Regions from separate parts of the Homo sapiens genome. Here regions 1, 2, 4, 5, 6 and 7 are each linked to region 3. Evidence: promoter capture Hi-C in human tissues and cell types (Jung and others, 2019). All regions are on one chromosome and are shown on one strand. The core of a region is centred on a gene start or on the middle of the fragment in contact, and the rest is flanking DNA. Distances in the headings are between cores, read along the strand shown.

Region 1 (2,912 bases), core at 356-2,855, 370 kb before region 3:
CTTCATAAGCACTATCTCTTTTGAGTCTATGTCATAAGAAGTCGGTGGTAGAGTAGATAATTTTTTTAGCTATTATCTGGAGATGAGACTCAGAAGTTAGATCAACCACTTGTAGTATTTTAAGTGTGAGTTATTCTGTATTTTAGTTGTGAAGTGTACAGAATCTAATTAGCTTTTAATAATTCAGAGTCCTTTTCACACTTGGCTGCTTTTCTTTTCCTGTACAATTTTGTGTTTTCTCTTTTGTCTTTTAAAAATTTGTTAGTTAAAAAAAACTGTTTAGTTTTACAACCCTCCCTCATTTGTATAAATCTCCTCTCAGATTATTCATATAATGAGTATTGCCTGAATTTCATTTTCTTGTTAAAGTCTCTTTTGAGACCCTCTGACCTACCCTGTTCTGAAATGATTATCCTATGAGATCCCTCTTTGTTCATCATCATCTTGGAAATTGTATTTGCCTGCTTCTCTCTTATGTTCAGTTTCCTGGTTCCTTGAATTTATGTGTCTTCTTTCTTGATGTTCTCCATTGTTTTTAGTTGATATAATCTCATAGTTCCTACTGAGAAAGAATATGTGTAAGGTAAAATTTTTTTGAGGCTTCCATTCCTGAAAATATTTTATTTCTGCCCTCATTTTTGATTAGTACTTTGACTTGATATAGAATTCTAGGTTGAAGTTATTTTCCCTGAGAATTTAAAATGTGTTGCCTTGTTGCCTTCTGGCTTCTAGTGTTGCTGTTGAGCACATAGATGTCATTATGGTTTTTGATCCTTTGTATGAAAATTTCATTATTACATGCCATGGGAGGGAACTCTTTTCATTCATTGTGCAACATATTTGGTAGGCTCTTTGAGTCAGCTGCTTTCTGTGATTTTTTTTTTTTTTGCCATTTTTTTCTTTGATGATTTAGATGTTGTACACCTAGAGTAATCCTTTGCTTTTTCTTTTTTCTCTTCAATTTTTTTATGTCTTTGGTTTTTGTTCTTTTTTTCTTTTGAGGGATTTATTTATTTAATTAAAGACAAGGTCTTGAGGCTCTGTCACCTAGGTTGGAGTATAGTCATGTGATCCTAGCTCACTGCAGCCTTAAACTCCTGGGCTCAAGTGATCCTCCTGCCTCAGCCTCTTGAGTAGTTGGGATTACAGGTGCATGCCACCATGCCCAGATAGGGACTTTTAAAAATGTGATCTTATAACTCTTTTGTCAGTTTTTATTTGTTTCTGTAATTTTAATTTTTAACTTAATTTTTAATGTTTTTTAAAATTTCTGAGGTCTTTAAAAAAATAATGTTTTTTTCATATATTCCATTTTTGTTTTGTGGGTACAATATCTTTTTCTAAGAATATTACTGATGCGTATTTACATGTGCATCTGTTTGTGTATAAGTCTATATATGTATGTGTATGTATATATATGTATGTGTATGCTTTGTTCCCTTTCCTGATGACTCAGTTTCTTCCCACTTGCTTTTTCTGTTTGTTTGGCTTCATTCTTTTGTTAGATATTTTCTTTAAATGTTTGGTGATCTTTGGCCTACTCCTGATACTTTTAAAGTGGGGGGCACTAAAAAGCAAATTGGAAGCTCTCTGTGCATGTAATGTCCTCTGTCTGGGCCATTTTCTTAGGAATATTACTGTCTTTTCTCTTGGGCTGGTCATATTTTCCAGAAATGGCTTTTCTTGCCTGGAAGACACAATCGTTTCTGCTAGTGGTCTAGGAGCAGAGTAAGAATAAGATTGAGAGTCTTAATACTCAAAGTGATACTTTCATTTAATCTCCATATTTAGTATCAATACAGGACCTCTGCCTTCAGCTATTCCTGTTGTCTGCAAGTCTAGAAACTTTTCCCTCTCCTAATAACAAATTTGTAGTAGAGTGCCAGGGTTGGGGTTGCTTAGCTGCTGCAAGTCAGGGAGGACAACTGGGAGATCTCACGGCTTCCACACAGACTGGCGATGAATCTTTCTCTTTTAGGCCTGCCTTCACCCCTGCTTCCAGAGATATCTTGTGCTTGCCAATTCTTGTGCCTGCTGTAAAGCAGTTTGCTTCTCTGCTTTCCTAGTTCTGCAGTGAAAATTATTACTCATTAATTTTCTTTCCAGAGTCTAAAGGTACTGCTTTTTATTTCATCTTCTTGAATTTTTTATAGGCGTATTCCCTTTAAAAATTACATTTTTATCATTTTAGTAGGATGTTTGGACTGAGCGGAAGCTAATGAATGTGTACAACTAATTATCTTTACTTAGAAGTTTTCTTTTTTTAATTGCAGAAGAAATAAGAATTCGCTCCTATAAAAATTTAGATGATGCAGCTGGGCGTGGTGGCTCACGCCTGTAATCCCAGCACTTTGGGAGGCCGAGGCGGGTGGATCACCTCAGCTCGGGAGTTTGAGACCAGCCGGACTAACATGGTGAAACCCTGTCTCTACAAAAATTAGCCGGGCATAGTGATGCATGCCTGTAATTTCCAGCGACTCGGGAGGCTGAGGCAGGAGAATTGCTTGAACCCAGGAGGCGTAGGTTGCAGTGAGCTGAAATCGCACCATGGCACTCCAGCCTGGGCAACAAGAGCGAAACTATGTCTCAAAAAAAAAAAAAAAATTCAGATCATTCAAAAAAAGTGAAAGTCACTTTCAGTCCTCTGGTATGAACATGTTCAACTAGTCCTCTAAGGAATCTAATGGTTTTCAAGCTTTTTTTTTCTTTTTTTTGAGACAGAGTCTCACTCTGTTGCCCAGGCTAGAGTGCAGTGGCACCATCTCGGTTTACTGCAACCTGTCTCCTGGGTTCAAGCAATTCTCCTGTCTCAGCCCCCCAAGTGGCTGAGATTACAGGTGTGTACCACCATGCTTGGCTAATTTTTGTATTTTTAGTAGAGACAGGGTTTTACCATGTTGGCCAGGCTGGTC
Region 2 (2,700 bases), core at 144-2,643, 290 kb before region 3:
ATCACCCTTTGTACTTAAATGTTGATGTGTGACCTGTATCTCCTGAAGGGAGGGATCATTTTTGTTCAACAGTTTATATACAGTGCCTGCAAGATAGTAAAGGATAGTAGTTGAATGAGTGAGTATTTACATATGACTAATGAACATGAAAAGGTAGTCTTGATCCTATGGTAAAGACATTCAGGTTGAAGTGAAGACCTTTTCACTTCTCATATTTCTAAAAATTAATAGTATACCCAATGCTTGCAAGAGTGGGAGGTAGTAGATGGGAGGGAAATTTGGCAATAAACAGTAAAACATATAGTGGGCCTGTACTTTAGCCCTGCAGGTTCTACCAGCGCAAGTGTACTCTCCAGAGATGCTCACAGAAATACAGAGATGATGGGGAGAAATGTCTTTTGTAGTATTGTGTGTAATGTGAGAAATGGAAACATCCAAAATATCTACTATGATCCAATCATAGAGTGGAATGTTAGGCCATCTTTCTGGAAATAGGTCCAGTATACATTATTGAATTTTAAAAATTGCCTCTGTGTGTGTGTGTGTGTGTGTGTGTGTGTGTGTGTGTGTGTGTGTGTGTGTGTGTATAGGATGATTATACTTCTGTTTAAAATTTGGAGATTTTTATGTGTTTGTGCATAGAAGTGATCTGGAAAGATAAATCCTGTAATTATTAAGAGTGTGGGATTGGAAGATGGAGTGAAGGTAGTTTTAACTTTACTTTTATTCTTTTGTAGGATTTTGGGAGGACAAGGATTGTCTAATGTATGTATCTATATTTTCTGTTCTTTTTTTTTTTTTTTTTTTTTTTGAGACAGAGCCTGGCTCTGTCGCCCAGGCTGGAGGAGTGCAGTGGCACGATCTTGGCTCACTGCAACCTCTGCCTCCCGGGTTCAGGCAATTTCATCTGCCTCAGCCTCCTGAATAGCTAAGACTACAGGCGACCACCACCATGCCTAGCTTATTTTTGTATTTTTAGTAGAGACAGGGTTTCACCATATTGGCCAGGCTGGTCTTGAACTCATGATGTCGTGATCTGCCTGCCTCAGCCTCCCAAAGTGCTGGGATTATAGGCATGAGCCACCTCACCTGGCCCTATATTTTCTTTTATAATTTGAATATACACACCCTTATATTATTCCCTCACCTCCAAGTCTCTGCCAACATAATGATAAATTATTGCACATACTCCTGAGAGAATCCTTGTTCTCACTTAGAAACAATTTACTGTAACATATACAGGTATATGTTTATACCTGTAACATTTGAGTTGAGGGCTAAGGGGGAAAGAAAAACGTTCTGGTTTACAATGCCGAAATTTTTCTTCATTTGAGGTGAAATTACTTTTGAAGAGCTCAGGAAGAAGCTACAAAGTTTCAGCTGTAGTATGCAGCTCTGGAAGAGGAAGGTGGAACTTCTCACAGAAACAAAGCTGTCCCTTCAAGAGTAATAACTCACCTATAGAAATAATTATAGGAAACCATTAAGCTTCATGGGGTTTTCAGTTCAAATAGGATCAGAGCTCTTTTTTGGAAGAGGAGTGGCAATGTTGACATTTTATTTTGCATAGCTACCAAAGCCAGTGTAAAAAGGAGAAGAGTAGGACATAAATTTTAACTATGAAAGACGTGAATGCCAATATTCTCTTTACTCAAAGACCCAGGAAGTAAAGTGGGTTAGAGGCAGCATGATGTAGTAAAAAGTATATTGGCTCTGAAGTCAGGCAGAATATAGTCCTGGCTGCCACTTAGCAGCTCTGTGATTCCCTTTCCTTGGCTGTAAATTGGGGTAATAAATGGTTGTAGGATTAGAGTTAATGGAATGTACTAAGCATATTAACATTGTAAGTACTCAACAAATGGTAACTGATAGTTTTTATGTGGAGTGAAACAAGAATAAAGAAAGAACTGTTTCATCTCCTTCACTAGCCCCCTATGTACTACTGAGTTTGCTAATATATCAGTCTTTTTGAGGCCAAATTCTCAAATTAGATTATATGCTACCTGGATTAACAGTTTTTTGTTTTTTTGTTTGTTTGTTTGAGACGGAGTCTCGCTGTGTTGCCCAGAATGGAGTGCAGCGGCACTATCTCGGCTCGCTGCAAGCTCCGCCTCCCAAGTTCACGCCATTCTCCTGCCTCAGCCTCCTGAGTAGCTGGGACTACAGGCGCCCGCCACCACACCTGGCTAATTTTTTGTATGTTTTTTTGGTAGAGACGGGGTTTCATTGTGTTAGCCAGGATGGTCTCGATCTCCTGACCTTGTGATCCGCCCACCTCAGCCTCCCAAAGTGCTGGGATTACAGGCGTGAGCCACCGCACCTGGCCTGGATTAACAGTTTATTGATACACTTGTTCATTCATTAAAAATGTTGAGCTGTAAGTGCCAGGTATTACTCTAGAACTTGGGAACATATCAGTGCTTAAGAAAGAGAAGGTGTGCGTTGTCAACTCACACATTTCTGTCTCTGACACAGACTTCTCCCTTGAACTCAGATTTACACATATAACCACCTATTTGTCATCTCTACTTGGTTGCCTAGTGAAAATCTCAAAGGTTTTTTTCATTCCATGCTTTGCTGGGTTATCACCAGTGAGGGAGCTGGGACACCACAGTGTGCCTTTGTTGTCCTAATAAATACCCATGTAGTCAAATAGGATATAATACAACATTGTCATTCTTCATAAATTTTCTTAAAATA
Region 3 (2,981 bases), core at 192-2,691:
CTTCTTTGAACAGGGTTTCAAAGGCTGACCACCTGTGACGGCCTGAAAATCAGCTGCTGTGATTGTCTGAGACTCAGGTACTTATAACAGTAGGTTACAGTCTGTTTACACATCTACTTAGGTTACAGTTCACTAAGTACAGAGAAACTTTTAGGCTAAACTTAAAATATTCAAGGAGGCAGCGTTAGGCTATACTTAACACCTACTTAGCACAGGTAACTAGAAGTGGCTAAAACAGAAACGAATTCTTGAATAACTGAGTGAATGCCACACTTAGAAAAGGTTGTTTTATGCAGCTAATTATAGAATCACGGACAAGAACTGAAAGAGTTGCTGCCTGAACTTTCCACTCGAGGTCTGTGTTAGAATTTAGGAAACGCCACCCTGATAAATGACTGCAAAAGACAAGAATGCACCATCCCCAAACATGCCACCCTGGCATATTGATGACTTTGAGCTATAAGTAACAGAACCAAACAACACAGGATAACTTATTCAGCTACCCCTCAACTGCCTAAAATAAAGTATGACTGCTTTTTTTCCTTTTGTTCTTATTATTTTTCGACTCGCCTGTTGTAAACAGAAATTTACACCTATAAAGGAAATTTTCTGTAGTAAATGTATCTGTATCAGGAAGACAGCTGCTTGGGGGCAACTTTTATCGCCTGAGCGCCTCATCGGGATAACAAAGCAACCTTTATTCACCATACATTTCCCCCATCACCCTTCCAAAAGGTCTCCACCACGCCCCAAAAGGCCCACGCCCCTATTCCCTGGCCCTTCTTTGTCTCCCACTTTTGTGGCCCTCTAGTGCACGGGTACATAATTAAAAGTTTTTCTCCTGTTAATCTGTCTTATGACAATTTAATTTGTGGCCCAGCTTAAGAACTTAGAAGGGTAGAGGGAAACCATATTTCCTTCCCCTACATTTGAATCTTCTTTACACCACACTCTCCCGGGTCATTTGGACTCTCCTGGAACCCCCTGGAGCTAGGGAAGCGCAGGGCCTCCCAAGTCAGATTCTGCTTGGTGCCGAGCGGCAGTTGGCTCCCTGAACGCCCCGCCAGGAGGATGGACTTCAAGTCCTTGACCGCGGCGCCCGACATCGGTCGCCCGCACCAGGCTCCTGCCGGGCCCAGCCCCCCTGCCTGCTCGCGGGGGCTCGGAGGACCCGGCCTAGCGCCCACCGCGGCGTCCCGCGCCCCGGGCCCCTGGCTTCAGAAGACTGGCCGCGCGCGGACGGCAGCTCGGGACTCACAAGGACTCCAGGTGCTTGAGCTGCTGCAGCTGCTGCGCGTCGTGTCGCCGCCGCTTCTGCTCCCGACGTCGCTGCAGCTCCTGCTCCGGCGGCTCACGCGGCCGCCGCGCGCCCGCAGCCCCCACGTCCTCGCGCCCAGGCCGGGACGACATGTCAGCCCCCGCAGCGCCGCTCGGGCAACCCCCGCGGCGCGGCTCCGGCGGCGGCGGCGGCGGCGGCGGCAGCCAAGAGAGCACTTCCTCCGCGCGGCGGTCGCGGGGCTTCGCAGCGCCCCCTCCCGCCGCCGCCCCGCAACTCACCCCGGCGGCCCCGAAGTCTCAGCCTCGGCCACCCGATCCCCGCCTCCCCGCGTCGGGCCCCAAGTCAGGGGCTCCGGGTCTCGGGCCCAGCCGCCAGGCGGGCTGCTGCGGGTGGGTGGGGAGCGCCGCCTAGCTGGAGCCGAAGCGGGGCGAGGCGCTAGTTGGGAGCCTGGAGGTTCCCGCCCGGCCACACCCACCTCAGGTATACTAGCAACAGTCACATAGGGATGAGCAGATGAAATGTATTCATAAAAAAATGTTCAAATTAGCCAGGCGTGGTGGCGGGCGCCAGTAGTCCCAGCTACTTGGGTGGCTGAGGCAGGAGAATTGCTTGAACCCAGGAGGCAGAGGTTGCAGTGAGCCGAGATGGTGCCCCTGCACTCCAGTCTGGGCGAAAAAGCGAGATTGTCTCTCAGAAAAAAAAAAAAAAAAGTGTTCAAAAAGTGAAATGTATAAACATATAATTATGTTCGGTAATAGTGTGCACCCAGCTTTATAACTGCGGTCATCTGATATACCATGAGAGACAACCTAACTCTTTTGACAGGATGGGTCACCATGACGTCACCACTGTGCCAGTCACCCGAGGAGCCAAGATCCTGAGAAATTTCATCTTTCACAAATGCAGATGTACAGAAAAGACACTTATTTATTTATCGAGGAAATTTCTACATTTTTGCATATATGTAGAATGCTTACACAGTCACCATTGTAATAATGAGCTTTGATTGAGTCATATTTGCAAAAAATGCATAAAACAAATTTGAACTCTCTAAAAGTCTTTATATAGTTGATGCCTCCAGTATTAGAAATGATGTTAAGATGTAATACATAGCATAGTGAATTGTAAAACATAATGCTGACAATTTACAATAATGAAAAAGCTAAAAGAGAAAATAGAAAAACGAAAGCAAACTAAAAAGAAAATTCAACATAGAAAAAGTGTATTGCAGGGATAGATTATGGGCAATTGCATGGCGATTGTCCACATGAACTGCCCAACTTTTATGATGATTAACATATTTTGAAGTCTTGCATCATGATGAATAGCTTTTTTTTTTTTCTTTTAGGACATGGCTCTCCTCGATGATACAGTCTCATTAATTTTCTATGTGATACTGCTCTTTCCAAAATTCTTTTTAACTTTTTAAAGTTTTTTATTTTGTAGAGACGGGGTCTCGCTATGCTGCTTAGGCTGGCCTTGAACTCCTGGCCTCAAGCAATCCTCCTGCCATAGCCTCCCAAAACACTGGGATTACAGGTGGGAATCACTGCACCTGACTATGAAATTATTTTGTGATTTGATATTCTCTGACTTCTCTTTGTGCTTTCTTTCTGTTGTACCCTCCTGTCCATGAACCCCTCTGTTTTTCATTTTATTCTTCTGCCCCCTCCTAAGACACCAGAGATTCATTCTTGAGGCC
Region 4 (2,814 bases), core at 75-2,574, 310 kb before region 3:
GCTTTTCTGGACTAATTTCCTTCTTCACAATTTACAAACTGACCAAATTGAATGTTTTAGTTACTTTAATGGGCCTTCTTTTCATACAGTTTTTTCTGCCTTAAGCACCATTCCCCATGGACTGGTTAAATCTTAGGTAACCATACATCCTAGTTTATGCTTGTTTTCACTATCACTCTCAAAAGTGTGCCTGTTTGGATGGTAAATGATATGGTAACCCTGGTTAAGTTCAATTTACACCTCATGTAACTTCCTCCAGGAGGCTTTAACAAAAATTCTATCTTGGTTCCTTTTGTTTAAATTTCAAATGCACCTCATATTACTTAACACCCAACTGTATTAGTCATTTTGATTGTCTTCACTGCTGTGAGGGCAAGGGCTTGTGTCTACCCTATTTATCTCTTTATCTTCAACACCTAAAAGTGTGTGGCACATAACAAGCACAGAACTGAACAAAACCTATGTAAAGGAGTGTATAGGTCATGAAGAAAAATTTAATTTCAGTAAAGTCATTCAGGCAACTATTTTGGAATTCTAATTAGTACTGAAATGTCTCTGACACCATGGAGAAAGGATTTGTCAAATAACCATCAAATGAGTTGGAATTAAAAAAAAAAAAAAACTTCCCAACATATAAAAATGATATAAACAAGTAGAGTTTATCTCATAAATAAAAGATTGCTTTAATATCAGAAAATCACATACCATACTAACAGAATAAAGGACAAAAACCATAGGACTGTGCCAATAGATACTGATATGGTTTGGCTCTGTGTCCCCACCAAAATCGCATGTGGAATTTTTTTTTATATATATATACAGAGTCTTGCTCTGTCACCAGGCTGGAGTGCAGTGGGGTGATGTCGGCTCACTGCACCCTCCGCCTCCCGGGTTCAAGCTATTGTCCTGCCTCAGCCTCCCTAGTAGCTGGGACTACAGGCGTGCGCCACCACGCCTGTGCACCTGGATAATTTTTTGTATTTTAGTAGAAACAGGGTTTCACCATGTTGGTCAGGCTGGTCTCCAACTCCCGATCTCAGGTGATTCGCTCGCCTCGGCCTCCCAAAGTGCTGGGATTACCGGCATGAGCCACTGCGCCCGGCCTCATGTGGAATTTTTAGTCCGCACATGTTAGGGTAGGGAACTGGTGGGAGGTGACTGGATCATGGGGGCAGTTCTCCATGCTGTTCTTGTGATAGTGAGTTCTCACTAGATATGATGGTTTAAAAGTGTGGCACATCCCCCTTTGCACTTGCTCTCTCTCTCTCTCCTTCTCTCCTTTGTCTCTCTCCTCTCTCTCTTCTCTCTCTCTCGTCGCCATGTAAGATATGGCTTGTTTCTCCTTTGCCTTCTGCCATAATTGTAAGTTTCCTGAGGCCTCTCCAGCCATGTGGAACTGTGAGTCAATTAAACATCTTTTCTTTATAAACTGCCCACTCTCAGGTAGCTCTTAATAGCAGTGTGAAAATGGACTAATACATAGAAAAATTATTTGACAAATTAGAGGACCCATTTATGATTAAAACTCACCAAATTAGGAAGAGAAAGAAACTTCCTCAACCTGATGAGGAACATCTATGAAAAATCTACAGCTAATATGTATAATAGTGAAAGATGGAAAACTTTCCCCCTACCATCAGGAGCTAAACAAAGATGTCAGCTTTCACCACCTCTATTCACAATTGTACTGGAAGTCCTAACTGAGGCAATAAGACAAGGAAAAGAAAAAATTTAACCCTCAATAGTTTAAGGAAAAATGAAAAGGCATATGGCTTTGAAGGAGTCTCAAAAAACAAAACAAAAACTCTAGAAATAATAACGTAGCCGGATTACAAGATAAAGACCAATATAAGCCAAGCTTGGTGGCTCATGCCTGCAGTCCCAGCTACTGAGGTGGCTGACGTGGGAGGGTCACTTAAGCCCTGTAGTTCAAGGCTAGCCTGGGCAACAGAGCAAGACCTCATCTCTGAAAAAAAAAAAAAAAGTCAATAAACAACTGCATTGTATGTACTATCAACTATTAAAAAACATTTTTTTTTTGAGGTAAGGTCTCACTCTGTCACCCAAGCTGGAGTGCAGTGGTGCCATCATGGTTAACTGCAGCCTCAACCTCCCAGTCTCAATCAGTCCTCCCACTGCAGCCTCCTGAGTACCTGAGACTGCAGGCACAAGCTACCATGCCCGGCTAATTTTCATATTTTTTGTAGAGATGGGGTTTTGTCATGTTGCCCAGGCTGGTCTCAAACTCCTGGGCTCAAGCAATTTGCCCACTTTGATCTCCCAAAGGGCTGGGATTATGTTACTGTGCCCAGCCATAAAAAAATTAACAGTGTCATTAAAGAAAACCATTTAGCAATAAATTCAACAAGAGATGTATAAGAACTGTACACTATATAACATTGCTGAGAGAGATTTAAAAAGATCTGAAGAGAGAAATATACCATGTTCATAGTTTGGAGGAGTTGATATTGGTAAGTTGGTAATTCTCTCCAAATTGGTCTGCAGATTCAATGCAATTGTTATCAAACCACCACTATGTTTTTTTTCCTTTTTTTGCAGAAATGGATGGGCTGATTATAACGTTTATGTGGAAAAGCAAAGGTCCTACAATAGTCAAAACAATTTTTACAAAAAGAACAAAGGAGACTTACTCTAAACTATTTCAAAATTTTATTATAATAAAGATAACATGGTACTGCATAAGGATAGACATAGATCAATGGGATATAATTGAATCCAGAAAGATCCTCACATACACATGTATAGTCCATATATATATATATATATATATATATATATATATATATATATTTT
Region 5 (2,772 bases), core at 99-2,598, 350 kb before region 3:
TCATGGCGACTGTGAAATGTGGGGTGGGGAGCATGCGTTCGAAGCCATTTGCGCGGGCAGTCCCTGCGTGTCCCCCCACGTGCTCCCCAGCACTCGCAGGACCCCCGCCTCCGAGCTTCCCTGAGCGTGCAGCTTCCAGTGAGGGCAGCCCCACGCACAGCCCCCCACACCCTCCCCAACGCCTTCAGCCCCCGGTGCGCGTAGTCCCCAAGCCCACACGTGCACTCTCCACCTTGCGGCAGCTGCACGTACAGCCCCCCACACGCTCCCAGCCCCACTGGCGCAGAACCCATCACCGCTCGCCCTTCACGCGCTTCACTGGGAGTGCAGCCCCCACCCCGAGCGCGCAGCTCCACGCAGCCTCTCCACACTCTCCCCAGCGCCTGCAGCACCCCCAGTGCGCACAGCTCTGCCAGTCGCTTCCCCGCGTGCCGCCCCTGCACCACTTCGGGCCATAACCTTGCTGGCGACTAAGTCTGAAGAACTTCCCGTGATTTAATTCTTTTCTTCGAGTTTAGTCTTAGCTTTGACATTTTAACCAAAAGGTTACACGTTAATTTATGGTATGAGGTCACCACTTCTCCTATTGTCCTTCTCAGTTTCTCCCCAACCTCTCCTATTCCCTATTTTATAAGACAGGAGAAAAGGGAGAAAGCAAAAAGTTAGAAAGAAACAGAAGTAAGATAAATAGCTGGAGGACCTTGGCACCACCACCTGGCCCTGGTGGCTAAAATAATAATAATATTATTAACCCCTGACCAAAACTATTGGTGTTATGTGTAAATTCCAGACACTGTATGAGAAAGTACTGTAAAACTTTTTGTTCTGTTAGCTGATGTATGTAGCCCCCAGTCACGTTTTTCACGCTTACTTGATCTATTATGACTTTTTCACGTAGACCCCTTAGAGTTGTAAGCCCTTAAAAGGCCTAGGAATTTCTTTTTCGGGGAGCTCCGCTCTTAAGACACGAGTCTGCCGACGCTCCCGGCCGAATAAAAAACCTCTTCCTTCTTTAATCTGGTGTCTGAGGAGTTTTGTCTGCGACTCGTCCTGCCACAAATTAACGAAGTATTAAAGGGGAAGATCTCAGCTGAAAGAAATGACTGTAGGAAGTGTGTCAGGAAAGCCAACGGACCCGCAGGCCCGCCCGTGGTGCCCGCGGCATTAGGAACGTCTCTGCTCTCCTACGATCGCTGGGGTATCGGACAGTCAGTGCCCGCTGTCAATGCGGAGGGAACGGGCCGAGACTGCGGGCAACACGTGGCAGAGCCGGCCTGAGTCCGGTGGGTCTGATCCCAGAGCCTCAGGTTGACGCCAATTCCTTGGCATGGGACAGCGTTTACTGAATCTTAAAGCAAAATGCTTTTAAAATAAGGTTCCTCAGAAGTCGTCAGCCCTAGGAGCGGTGTGCTCAAGCGCTTTCAGCACCAGCCAGGACCAACTAAGAGGGGAGCCCTTAGCTCCCAGTCACCGCGCAGCCCTACAGGAGGCCAAAGCGGCTGGCACAGATGCACTGGGGCCACTGACATTTTCCATGTCCTCTTGTCACGGGCCATATGCTGGATGGAGCCCACACCGCTTCACTTCCCATCTGTCTGATGATGGATCAAATTGAACTCCCATATCCTAACTGACCAGTCTAAATCATGGCTCATTGTGGCCAGGTTAATTTTTCCTGATGCAACACAGCACAAAAATGTTCATGGCTCCCCATAGCCCACAAATCAAGTCCTAGGCTTGCTCACCAATGCCTTCAATAATTGCCCAATATACCTTTTCAACTTTAATTTCCCACTTCCTCAGGCACAAATCTTCCATCCCAGTCATTTCAGGTGAGGTCCACAGCCTGAGACACCATAACTGCTGAATTCCTTTACTCATATGGAAAAGCCACCCCTTGGCTTTTACATCCTTTTCTCCCTGCCCATCTGAATGCTATCACCTTCCAAGCCCCAGCCCATTTCTCCAGTCCATATTAATTATGCTTTTTCTGAAGGTCTAGAGCACTTAACTGACAGTACTATTTATCTTGTCATTCATTTAAATTCAGTAAGTGCTATTACTGTTCATTTCTTGTTTTGGGAGATTTTTTTTTAAGGAGCATTTCTACATTCCTGGCATTGTGTTTGGTGCTCAAAATGTTTTCTTACTTAATTCATGCAATAACTATATGCAAATTTTAAAATCAAGCATCAGGATGTAGTTATTTGCCCAAGTTTTAACAGCTAATAAATTCTATCTGTCCAATACTGCATTTAAAATACAAAGTATTTATGGTGGTTGTTAAGAATATATTCTTGAATGGCTAGGCAAACTCAAAATAAAGGACCTTATTTTAAAGTATGACTTTTTAATTTTTTTGCAACAATAAGTGAAGTGGAGTGATTGTTTTTCTTTTTAGTCAGTTTGTTTCTTCTGGAGTTTCCAACTGCCTTTTGCATCACTTGGTGTCCTGGTGGGATAAAATATGCTCTTACCCATGATCTAGTCCTTGAAAGTGCAAATCTGGTCATTTTATCATTTAAAAAATTAATCTTTTTATAAGAATGTTCATTGTGCTATTATTTATATCGTTGAAAAAATAGAAATGGCCTCAATGCCAAACACTAAGTTATGAAACATTCATATAATGAAGCATTACAGCCACTAAAGTCATTTTGCATGGATATTTAATAATATGGGAAAATAGTCATGATATAGTGTTAAAGGAAAAATGAAGCAGGATATATTTTATGATTCATATGTTTAGTAACACATAAAATTAACTGTGTG
Region 6 (2,700 bases), core at 146-2,645, 270 kb before region 3:
CTGCTGCCTACGGAGAACTACATCTCTAATGGTTTTAATGTTTTGCTAAGTCATGTGTTGTTCATATCCCAAAAACTTTTATAGGTAACTGTTTTCAAATAGAAAATGTTTTATTTGGTCAATTTGAATGTCATTCTAATTATAAAAATGACTCATACCTTTCATGCGCGTCCGTGTGAAGAGACCACCAAACAGGCTTTGTGTGAGCAACATGGCTGTTTATTTCACCTGGGTGCAGGTGGGCTGAGTCCAAAAAGAGAGTCAGCATAGGGAGATAAGGGTGGGGCCATTTTATAGGATTTGGGAAGGTAATGGAAAATTACAATCAAAGGGGGTTGTTCTCTGGTGGGCAGGGGTGGATCTCACAAAGTACATTCTCAAGTGTGGGGAGAATTACAAAGAACCTTCTTAAGGGTGGGGGAGATTACAAAGTACATTGATCAGTTAGGGTGGGGCAGGAACAAATCACAATGGTGGAATGTCATCAGTTAAGGCTGTTTTTACTTCTTTTGTGGATCTTCAGTTACTTTAGGCCATCTGAATGTATACGTGCAAGTCACAGGGGATGCGATGGCCTGGCCTGGGCTCAGAGGCCTGACATTCCTGCCTTCTTATATTAATAAGACAAATAAAACAAAATAGTGTTGAAGTGTTGGGGCGGCGAAAATTTTTGGGGGGTGGTATGGAGAGAGAATGGGTGATGTTTCTCAGGGCTGCTTCAAGCGGGATTAGGGGTGGCGTGGGAACCTAGAGTGGGAGAGATTAAGCTGAAGGGAGGTCTTGTGGTAAGGGGTGATATTGTGGGGATGTTAGAAGAAACATTTGTCGTATAGAATGATTGGTGATGGCCTGGATACGGTTTTGGATGAATTGAGCGAGCTTAATGTGTAGGGAAGGGAGGGGGCCTGAATAATCCCTGAGGAGTAGTAGAATAGCAGATGGAACACTGAGAAGTTATTTCCTTGAGGATAGATTTCCACGATGGAAAGGAAATGAGAGGTTCTAAGAGGCGGGATAGTGGCTTGTGCTATAGCATAGCCTGCCTTTGCTGGTGTGTGGCGATTAGGCCTGGTGGAACTGCCATCAATAAATCAAGCGTGATCAGGGTGAGGAACAGGAAAGAAGGAAATATGGGGAAATGGGGTGAATGTCAGGTGGATCAGAGAGATACAGTCATGGGGGTCAGGTGTGGTATCAGGAATAATGTGGGAGGCCAGATTGAAGTCCGGGCCAGGAACAATGGTAATTGTGGGACTTAACAAAGAGTGAGTACAGCTGAAGGAGCTGGGGAGCAGAAAGTATATGCGTCAGGTATAAGGAAGAAAAAGATTTCGGAAGTTATGAGAAATGTAGAGTGAGTTGAGCATAGTTTGTGATTTTTAGGGCCTCTAGAAGTATTAAAGCATCGGCAGCCGCTGCATGCAGACATGAGGGCTAGGCTAAAACAGTAAGGTCAAGTTGTTTGGACAGAAACGCTGCAGGGTGTGGTCCTGGCTCTTGTGTAAGAATTCTGACCATGCTAACCATGCCTAGGAAGGAAAGGAGTTGTTGTTTTGTAAGGGATTGAGGTTTGGGAGATTAATCGGACACGATCAGCAGGGAGAGCATGTGCGTTTTTATGAGAATTATGCTGAGATAGGTAACAGATGAGGATGAAATTTGGGCTTGACTGAAGTAATGGGGGCTGTCTGTGAAGCCTTGCGGCAGTACAGCCCAGGTAATTTGCTGAGCCTAATGGGTGTCAGGGTCAGTCTAAGTGAAGGCAAAGAGAGGCTGGGATGAAGGGTGCAAAGAAATAGTAAAGAAAGCATGTTTGAGATCCAGAACAGAATAATGGGTAATAGAGGGAGGTATTGAGGATAGGAGAATATATGGGTTGGGCACCATGGGGTGGATAGGCAAAACAATTTGGTTGATAAGGCGCAGATCCTGAACTAACTTGTAAGCCTTGTCTGGTTTTAGGACAGGTAAAATGGGGGAATGGTAAGGAGAGTTTATAGGTTTTAGAAGCCCATACTGTAGCAGGCGAGTGATAACAGGCTTTAATCCTTTTAAAGCATGCTGTGGGATGGGATATTGGCGTTGAGCAGGGTAAGGGTGATTCGATTTTAACGGGATGGTAATGGGCATGTGATCGGTTGCCAGGGAAGGAGTAGAGATGTCCCATATTTGTGGGTTAAGGTGGGGGGATATGAGAGGAAGATGCAAAGGAGGCTTTGGGCTGGGGAGAAGGGTGGCAATGAGATGCAGCTGTAGTCCAGGAATAGTCAGGGAAGCAGATAATTTGGTTAAAATATCTCGGCCTAATAAGGGAACTGGGCAGGTGGGGATAACTAAAAAAGAGTGCATAAGAGTGTTGTCCAAGTTGGCACCAGAGTGGGGGAGTTTTCAGGGGTTTTGAAGCTTGGCCGTCAATACCCACAACAGTTATGGAGGCAAGGGAAACAGGCCCTTGAAAAGAAGGTAATGTGGAGTGGGTAGCCTCCGTATTGATTAAGAAGGGGACGGACTTATCTTCCACTGTGAGAGTTACCCAAAGCTCGGCGTCCGTGATGGTCTACAGGGCTTCTGAGGCGATCGGGCAGCATGAGTCTTCAACCGCTAAGCCGAGAAGGAGTCAGTCAGAGAGCCTTGGGCCAGAGTTCCAGGGGCTCCGGGAGTGGCTGCCAGGTGAGTTGAACAGTCCGGTTTCCAGTGGGG
Region 7 (2,726 bases), core at 34-2,533, 410 kb before region 3:
ACCTGCAAACTACACATCTGACAAAGGTCTAATATCCAGTACCTAAAAGGAACTTAAACCAACAAGCAAAAACAAACGGCCTCATTAAAAATGGGCAAAAAATGTGAACAGACACTTATCAAAAGGAGACATGCATGTAGGCAACAAGCATATGAAAAAATGTTCACCATCACTAATCATTAGAGAAATGCAAATCAAAACCACAGTAAGATGCCATCTCACACCAGTCAGAATGGCTATGATGAAAAAGTTTAAAAAAAAAAAGATGCTGGTGAAGTTTTGGAGAAAAGAGAACACTTATACACTGCTGGTAGAAATGTAAACCAGTTTGGCCACCGTGGAAAGCAGTTTGGAGATTTTTCAAAGAATTTAAAATGGAGCTATCATTCAACCCAGCAATCCCATTACTGGATATATACCCAAAGGAATATAAATTGTTCTACCATAAAAACACATATACACGTATGTTCATTGCAGCATTATTCACAATAGCAAAGACATGGAATCAACCTAAATGCCCATCAACGGCGGAATGGATAAAGAAAATATGGTACATATATACCATGGAATACTATACAGCCATATAAAAAGAATGAGATCATGTCCTCTGTAGCAACACAGATGGAGCTGGAGGCCAGTTTCCTAAGTGAACTAACACAGAACAGAAAACCAAATACTGTATGTGCTCCTTATAAGTACGAGCTAAACATTGAGCACACATGGACAAAAAGAAGGGAATAACAGGCACCAGGGCCTACTTGAGGGTGGAGGGTGGGAGGAGAGTGAGGACTGAGAAAATACCTATCAGGTACTATGCTTATTACCTGGGTGACAAAATAATCTGTACACCAAACCCCATGACATGTGATTTACCTATATAACAAACCTGCAAATGTACCCCTGAACCTAAAATAGAAGTTGGAAGGAAAAAAATTCATTGCACAAATGGAAACAATAAAATCTACAATTTGAACATGTATTTGAATAGCTAGACGTGTCATCAGAACAATTCTTGGTGCTTATTTAAGCACCCAGAGCTACCTAAAGAGAACATGAGGTTTAAGAACCACTGATGAGGAATCAAAGCCCTACTTTGAAGAGTATAAATATATAAGCATTATATACATATATACACACATATTTTAAAGAATTATAAAATGAACACTTGTATACTTAACACCAAGAAATTGAATATTAACATTGAAGCACCCAGGGCTTCTCCTGTATTGCATTCTTTCCTAGAAGTGATCACCAGCCTGTTTTGAATTAACTATGCCTATGCTTTCGCTGTTTTGCCACACTATATCTTCTATAATATTGTTGTCTTGTTTGTTTTTAGGGCATATGTAAATGGCATATATATTGACATGCACACTCATCCCCTTTGATGACTTAGTTTTTTATCTTTAACAGTCTATTTGACATTGGTTCCCGCTGACACTTTTGACTGTAGATCACATTCACTCATTTACAATATTACTTTGTATGGAAATATTCATTTTATCCATTCTGTTGGTGGGCCTTTGAGTTGTTTTCAGCTTTTTTTTCTCAGGTACAAATAATGCTTCCATGAAGATTCATGTAATTGGTTTCCTTGGTATATTTGTACCAATATTTCTTTAGGGTGAAACTATAAATTGCAGACACTATATACCTTAAAACTTATTAGGTAATAACGACTTATTTTCTTTTTATTATTATTATACTTTAAGTTTTAGGGTACATGTGCACAACGTGCAGGTCTGTTACATATGTATACATGTGCCATGTTGGCATGCTGCACCCATTAACTCGTCATTTAGCATTAGGTGTATCTCCTAATGCTATCCCTCCCCCCTCCCCTCACTCCACAACAGTCCCCGGTGTGTGATGTTCCCCTTCCCACGTCCATGTGTTCTCATTGTTCAATTCCCACCTATGAGTGAGAACATGCCGTGTTTGGTTTTTGGTCTTTGTGATAGTTTGCTGAGAATGATGGTTTCCAGTTTCATCCATGTCCCTACAAAGGACATGAACTCATCATTTTTTATGGCTGCAGTGAGCCAAGATCGTGCCACTGAACTCCAGCCTGGGCGACAGAGCAAGACTCCATCTCAAAAAAAAAAGGGAGAACCAAGGATTTTATATCTAGCCAATCTGTCATTCAAGTATAGATGTTATAAAAAAAGTTTCAAATATGCAATAATTGAGGAAATAATAGTAACCTTCTCAAATACAAAAAGTTTAAAAGAGAATCATATACAGAAACAAAGCAAATATAGTCAAATACACATAAAACTTACAACAAAGGTTCTCACATTATCTCACAAAGCAAAGACAGACTCAACTTATGCTACACAGGGAAGACAAATACAAACAGATTCAGAAAGGTGAAAAATAGAATGATGGCATCAGCATGGCAGGCAATACCATTTCCATATGCAAACTAAGGAAGACATTTAAAGCAAGGATAAGAAGCAAATTCATGGCCTCAAAAGCTTTATCAATAAAAATGAAAGAGTGAAAATAAATGAATTAAATTCTTGACTTAAAAATCTAAATAAATAACAAAATAAAGCAAAAAAAGTATACTAAAGGAAATACTCATGAGAAGAATAGTCTATTATATCTACCCCTCTGTGTATCTATTTTGCGTTTTATATTTCTTCTCTATATTCTAGGATTCCTTCTTTCATTTCCTTTTTGTTTTCAGAATTTTTAAATTTTAAGTTCAGGGATACATGTGC

Evidence for each region. The method cuts DNA at HindIII sites, captures the fragments that hold promoters and counts their contacts. A contact is called where the count stands out against the background at its distance.
Region 1: a contact is called between a fragment that was not itself captured here and the fragment with the promoter of RP9 in region 3, in 1 of the 25 tissues and cell types used here (dorsolateral prefrontal cortex).
Region 2: a fragment that was not itself captured here is called in contact with the fragment with the promoter of RP9 in region 3 in 1 of the 25 tissues and cell types used here (mesendoderm cells).
Region 4: a contact is called between a fragment that was not itself captured here and the fragment with the promoter of RP9 in region 3, in 1 of the 25 tissues and cell types used here (spleen).
Region 5: a contact is called between a fragment that was not itself captured here and the fragment with the promoter of RP9 in region 3, in 1 of the 25 tissues and cell types used here (spleen).
Region 6: a fragment that was not itself captured here is called in contact with the fragment with the promoter of RP9 in region 3 in 3 of the 25 tissues and cell types used here (H1 embryonic stem cells, heart right ventricle and spleen).
Region 7: a contact is called between a fragment that was not itself captured here and the fragment with the promoter of RP9 in region 3, in 1 of the 25 tissues and cell types used here (dorsolateral prefrontal cortex).

Annotation. Positions count from the first base shown.
Region 1 is chr7:32,740,300-32,743,211 of GRCh38, forward strand. No RefSeq gene overlaps it. Among named protein-coding and RNA genes, the nearest start is that of MIR550B2, 8.7 kb to the left of the region's middle. The HindIII fragment of the contact is 3,580 bases long and covers 1-2,912 here.
Region 2 is chr7:32,817,847-32,820,546 of GRCh38, forward strand. No RefSeq gene overlaps it. Among named protein-coding and RNA genes, the nearest start is that of LINC00997, 61 kb to the left of the region's middle. The HindIII fragment of the contact is 4,532 bases long and covers 1-2,700 here.
Region 3 is chr7:33,107,963-33,110,943 of GRCh38, forward strand. It overlaps RP9 (RP9 pre-mRNA splicing factor), which reads right to left and starts at 1,442. Exons shown (of 6, transcript NM_203288.2): 1 at 1,259-1,442. The coding sequence starts at 1,410. RefSeq lists silencers at 1,098-1,327, 1,338-1,817. The HindIII fragment of the contact is 15,438 bases long and covers 1-2,981 here.
Region 4 is chr7:32,797,209-32,800,022 of GRCh38, forward strand. No RefSeq gene overlaps it. Among named protein-coding and RNA genes, the nearest start is that of LINC00997, 40 kb to the left of the region's middle. The HindIII fragment of the contact is 3,512 bases long and covers 1-2,814 here.
Region 5 is chr7:32,761,911-32,764,682 of GRCh38, forward strand. It overlaps LINC00997 (long intergenic non-protein coding RNA 997), which reads left to right. Exons shown (of 1, transcript NR_036501.1): 1 at 1-1,014. Among named protein-coding and RNA genes, the nearest start is that of LINC00997, 5.0 kb to the left of the region's middle. The HindIII fragment of the contact is 9,731 bases long and covers 1-2,772 here.
Region 6 is chr7:32,838,583-32,841,282 of GRCh38, forward strand. It overlaps the pseudogene DPY19L1P2. Among named protein-coding and RNA genes, the nearest start is that of KBTBD2, 52 kb to the right of the region's middle. The HindIII fragment of the contact is 4,977 bases long and covers 1-2,700 here.
Region 7 is chr7:32,694,278-32,697,003 of GRCh38, forward strand. It overlaps the pseudogene DPY19L1P1. Among named protein-coding and RNA genes, the nearest start is that of MIR550A2, 37 kb to the right of the region's middle. The HindIII fragment of the contact is 7,417 bases long and covers 1-2,726 here.